2 separate regions of the Homo sapiens genome follow, and region 1 is linked to region 2. Evidence: promoter capture Hi-C in 16 types of primary human blood cells and fetal thymus (Javierre and others, 2016). All regions are on one chromosome and are shown on one strand. The core of a region is centred on a gene start or on the middle of the fragment in contact, and the rest is flanking DNA. Distances in the headings are between cores, read along the strand shown.

Region 1 (2,700 bases), core at 17-2,516, 200 kb before region 2:
TTTTATTATTAGTATTATATGTCTCGCTCTGTTGCCCAGGCTGGAGTGCAATGGCATGATCTTGGCTCACTGCAACCTCTGCCTATGGGGTTCAAGCGATTCTCCTGCCTCAGCCTCCCAAATAGCTGGGATTATAGGCGTGCGACACCACGCCCGGCTAATTTTTGTAGTTTTAATAGAGATGGGGTTTCACCATGTTGGGCAGGCTGATCTCGAGCTCCTGATCTCAAGTGATCTGCCTGCCTTGGCCTCCCAAAGTGCTGGGATTACAGAGGTGAGCCATCGTGCCTGACCTGCTTTTATTATTTATTTATTGTTTTTTTTTTTTCTTTTTAGAGACAGGGTCTCACTCTGTCTCCCAGGCTGGAGTGCAATGGCACAATCACAGCTCACTGTAGCCTCCTCAACCTCCCAGGCTCAAGTGATCCTCCCGCCTTGGTTTCCCAAAGTGCTGGGATTATAGGTGTGGGCCATGAACCCAGCCTGCTTTTACTACTCAACATGGTCAGCAGCTACCTTCTCTGGGACACCCAGGCTTGGTGTGTCTGTGCCCTGCCCTGGCCTCCAGGTTCACAGGCCAAAGGCCCAGGGCTCTGCCTTCCTTCCCCTCAGCCCACCGGGAACCACAACTTACAGGACCCACCTTCCACGCAGGAGCAGACCCCACGGAGGGCCCCAGAGCTGCTGCGGCCGTTCTTCCTGTCATGGTGGGTATACCGCAGCTTCCTGGCCATGGTGCCGTCTGAGAGCCGCACCTCGATGTTGGGCAGATCGCGCCAGTCTGACCCTGGGGCCAAGGGGATGTGCCGCATGCGGGCAGCCACCAATGCACTCATGTCCTGAAAGAGTGTGGGGGGCCCAGCTGTCACCTCATGTGAGCAGCATCCGAGCATCCATGGTGGGCTGGGAGCTGGGAACACCATGGTGACCAGGAAGCCCCCTGGGGCTCACGCCCATCGGGAAAGAGACAGTCAGGGATATCGCACTTGGCTCGAGGCCACGGCAGGGACCTGAGGCAGCGCAGGTGTAGGAGAGCGTGGGAATCTAAGCTGAGCCTTTAGGGTGGGGGAAGGGGAGTGGTGCCAGGGGATGGTGAAAGGGCTGGTCTTGGCATCCTGGGAAAACATGCGGGGAGAGGCAGCAAGGGGGAAGGCAGTGGTGGGTGGGCAGTGGCTTGACACCATTCCAGACCAAGTCCAGGACTGCGGGAGCTCTGACACTTCCCATGACCATGCAAGAGAGACCAGGGGTCACACAAAGGCTGAGGACTCGGGAGGAGGAGCCTGGGATCAGATTCCATGTCTCCCCTGAGTCTTGGGCAGGCTGACTGTTCCCACGAGGCTGCTGGGCTGGGCCTCGAGGAGGAGCCGCTCTGTCAGGGTGCCATTACCTTACAGATGTGGTCCCTGAGGATGGGCTGGTACTGTGCGCCCCGGAGCTGCCTCTGGAACCAGGACTGAGGCTCCCCGTTGTAGGAGATCTCCAGTGCCGAGGCTCCATTCCGCACCTCCGGCAGGTCGGACATCGTGTCTCGCACCGTGATGGTCCGGAAAGGACCCGAGCTCAACCTGCAACAGAGGAGGAGGTCAACACCTCTGGAGATGCACGCAGCAGCTGTCCCCTCATCACAGGTGCCACCCCCTGCCTGCTCAGATGGCCTTCTCCCGAGATCACAGCACTGCCCGAGGTCACATGGGTGGCAGTGTGCCTGGATGCCATCTGGAAGGGGGGATGGGGCTATGGCGTGGGCTTTGTGGATGACCACAGCCAAGCATGCGGCTGGCCGCTCTGCACATGCTATCTACTAGGGAAGCAGATGATGCAGGGTCAGAACTGGAGACCACAGGTGGCAGAGTGCCATGTGGCAGAGCACCGTGTGGCAGGGCAGATGCTGTACCATCCTCTCCTCCCCAAGCCTCACCAGGGAGTACTCACGGGCCCCATGAGCTACTGAGGCCTGCTCGGCAGTGTGTGGAGGAGCGACGGGGGCCACCTACCTGGTTATGTTGCTCACAAACTTCTTGTCATCCACCACCACGCTCAGCTGGCAGGCCCGGGGAGCAAACACGTGCAGTGGCTCCGGGAACAGAGGGAGCTTCTCTCCAGGGGCCGCGGCCAGGATGATGGCCCGCCTCCTAGTCTGGGCCACGCCGTACTGACCGGCCTGTGGGGGAGAAGGACGGACAACCCCACCGTCAGTGGGACACTCCCAACTGGACTGGCCAGACCCAGGCCCAGGGTCAGCAGCCTGAGTCGGGAGTGGCTGGCCAATGCGGAGTGCACTTGCAGAAATCCCCAGTTACCTCAGCAGGCGTGCTCCTGGTCAGAGGAGTTTGGAGCAGATAAAGAACAAAAGCAGCTGAGCCCAGGGGACAGCCACTGGGGAAGGTGGGAGCAAACCCTGCGGGGAAGTCCGGCCAGCTCTGAAAGCACTGCAAGGGCCCCAAGGTCTTAGCACTCGGGGAGAACACTGGAGACCAGGAGCCCTGTCGCTTCCCTGATGGCTGTGGTCACAAGGACAGAGAACGTGGCTGCAACAAGTCTTGTCTGGTGAGCCTGAGTCGCCCTGAGGCTGAGCTAGGGGACCGGGTAGCCAAGTGCTTGCCCACTTAGGCAGACATCCTGTGCTAGCATCTGGATAGCTGTTTCATTTTTAATTATGCCCTCAATTGCTGAGCTGATACAGAGAGGATGGGGGAT
Region 2 (2,700 bases), core at 201-2,700:
CAACCTCCTAGGCTCAAGTGATCCTCCCACCTCAGCCTCCTGCGTAGCTGGGACTACAGGCACGCACCACCATGCCTGGCTAATTTTTAAAAATTTTTTGTAGAGATGAGGGTTTCACTATACCGCCCAGGCTAGTCTCGAACCCTTGGGCTCAATACAGCCTCTTGCCTCAGCCTCTCAAAGTGCTGGGATTAAAGGGATGAGCCACCATGCCCAGCCTCTCAAGCCAGCTTTGAAGGCAAAGTGCTGGCGCCTGCTGGGACCAGACACACTGTGCATCTTGCAGGAGAGACAATGTGTTCCCAGCTGAGAGACTGCAGACACTGAGAGGAAGACCCAGAAAGAAACCTGACCATCCTTAATGATCCCTGTCCCGATCTGTCCCCAAATTCAGCCCCTCCCAACATCCCTGGGGTTCCACTAGCCACGTGCCCACCCGGTGTGCTGGTGGGCCGGAGAGCAGGGAATCTCAGCAGCAGGAAGCGAGAACCTATTTCACCGCCATAGGGCAGGGCAGTATAGATGCCATTTCCCTGGGTCCAAAGAGCATTGGGAAGCGCTGCCCCATGCTGGCCCCATGAGAAGGGCACTCCTAGCAGGAAGATTAGCCACGAGGGGCTCCATAGAACACAGGCCTCGCTTCCTTCCTGTAGGTCTGTAGGCTGGTGGCAGAAGACCCCATTTTCCCAAATTAATCCTGAGGTTTTGGGGGCTGAGACCCAGGGGCTGCTGTTAACTTCCGGATTTATCTCTGAGAGCAGTGAATAAACGCGTGATATGGAGGGGCGTACTCTCCGCAGTCCTGAAACTTCTGGATGTGAGGTCCCGCCACCCTGTGGTAGAGTGGGTGGAGAAAAGCATCATCCAAGCAGGGGGCAACTGGTGGTCCAATGTACCAGCCCATTCACAATTCCCCAACAGGACCAAAGCTGTCCGCCCCCTTCCATTCCCCGCCCGCTTCCATCACTTGGTGTCGCCCAAGCCTGTGGTCGCCCCTAGCAACGCCCTCCCTCACTTCGCAGTCGGTTTCCCCTTTCATCATCGCCCCCCCACGTCCCGCTCTTGGTCTCTCCCGATCCCGCGTGGATCCGGTGCTTGGGCGCCCCCGCCAACGACCCCCGCGCACCTCAGCGTTGGTGTCGCCCGGTTCCCCCCGCGCACGCGCACCGTGGTATTTCCCGCCACGCTCCTACACCGCCCCCCCCAATACCTGGTTGGTCACGTCCCCCGGGAGGCCCCGGATCAGTATCTTGCGGCGGTTACGGAACTGGCGCTCGGTGTGTTCCAGGCGTTTCCGGATCTCTTCTGGATCTAGAGGCGGCAGCTCTTCTTCCGGCGCCCGGCGCTCCGCGGCATCGCCGGCTTCGACTTCGGCCCCAGACTTAGGGCTCAGCGGGGGCCGGTGAGTAACGGACACGTCCGCCGCCATCTTGGGAAACCCGGCGCCTTCTGGGACCAGCGAGCCGGGGCGGAGCGGCATAGAGCGGCAACGAGGGCGCGCCCGTCGATTGGCTGGGAGAAACCCCACCTCCTTCCCGCCCCCCTTGCCCCGTTGGCTAAGCCCCAGCCCACCTCTCAAGAGTTCAAGCTGCGTCTGCGCGCCACAGGCCCCGCCCCCTTCCGTCGCAGCGACGCTACTCAGTGGATGTGCACCTGGGTGGGAGAGACTTGCAGCGCGGGTGGAATCAAACCACAGATTAGGGAGTTTGAAGGCTTTATTGGTGCGGAATCTGAGGGCACAGCCAAGCCCCCGCCAACTTTGATCCCGGATCCCAGCGTCACTCAGCTCTGGACGGTTCTTCCCCCATTGCTTCTGTCGGCTGCATAGACGTGAGGGGCAGATAGGTGCTCTCCTCCCTAACATGGTAACTGCCGCTCCGTTGGTGCTCCCTGAAGACGTACATTAAGGCCAGTACGATAGTCACCACGCCCAGGGTCAGTAACACCGCCACGAAGACGGGGACAAAGTGGGAGCTCCCAGCTGTGCAGAGAAAGCGCTAAGTCAATATGCGTCCCTTCTGTCTCCAACCCCCCCGCCCCCCGGCTTACCGGTCCAGACCCGCAGCCCCGTGTTAGCTCACCCTCAATGTCCATCACCACGACCAGGGTGTATTTGCCTCGTGAGCTGGACGCTTGGCACTGATAAGTACCATTATGTGTTACGTTGACGAAGAACGGGATCCCCACCGGCACCTCCCGGCTGGAGCCTTCCTTCAAACACCGCAGCTCGGGGTACGGGTTGCCCCTGGCTTGGCACTGCAGGACGTGTCTCGTTTTATCTTTCCATTTCAAGTGCTGGGGGCATGTGGCTCGGTCAATTTTGGGACCATCTGTGGAACCACCATGTGTGATCAGACACCCAACACACCCGAGGCACAGTGGTGCAGAGGAGCGTCTAATCTTTCCAGGGCAGGGGTGGAGGGATTAAAGGTCAGGGTGACCGACTCACACAGGACTCGCAGCTGGACGCTACTGTTCCTGTGCAAGAACTCGCCGTCCACCTCGAGAGTGGCACTGCAGAAGAAGCTGCGTCCGTCGTCACTCTCGGTAGCATTTAGCTGAAGTTGAGCTGGCTGCCCCGGGGCCGCGGCCGGAACTCCGTCCAGCGTGACCTGGACTCGAGCCCCAGCCATGCAACTCACGGTCACTGTGGACCCCTCATGGGCGGTGGGCTCGCTGAGGTTCACAATGGGTCCTAGG

The links. Contacts are between HindIII fragments. The CHiCAGO score rates a contact against its expected background, and 5 or more counts as called.
Region 1: a contact is called between a fragment that was not itself captured here and the fragment with the promoter of RAVER1 in region 2, in 1 of 17 cell types (erythroblasts). The highest score is 5.7, in erythroblasts.

What each region holds. Positions count from the first base shown.
Region 1 is chr19:10,136,442-10,139,141 of GRCh38, forward strand. DNMT1 (DNA methyltransferase 1) reads right to left here. Exons shown (of 41, transcript NM_001130823.3): 35 at 1,998-2,164; 36 at 1,391-1,568; 37 at 644-839. Among named protein-coding and RNA genes, the nearest start is that of EIF3G, 18 kb to the left of the region's middle. RefSeq lists an enhancer at 1-199. The HindIII fragment of the contact is 6,913 bases long and covers 1-2,700 here.
Region 2 is chr19:10,332,079-10,334,778 of GRCh38, forward strand. RAVER1 (ribonucleoprotein, PTB binding 1) reads right to left here and starts at 1,451. Exons shown (of 13, transcript NM_133452.3): 1 at 1,211-1,451. The coding sequence starts at 1,429. ICAM3 (intercellular adhesion molecule 3) reads right to left here. Exons shown (of 7, transcript NM_002162.5): 5 at 2,450-2,700; 6 at 2,082-2,330; 7 at 1,698-1,981. The coding sequence ends at 1,779. RefSeq lists enhancers at 1-844, 845-1,761, 1,252-1,471, 1,712-1,851, 2,476-2,700 and a silencer at 856-1,079. The HindIII fragment of the contact is 8,385 bases long and covers 1-2,700 here.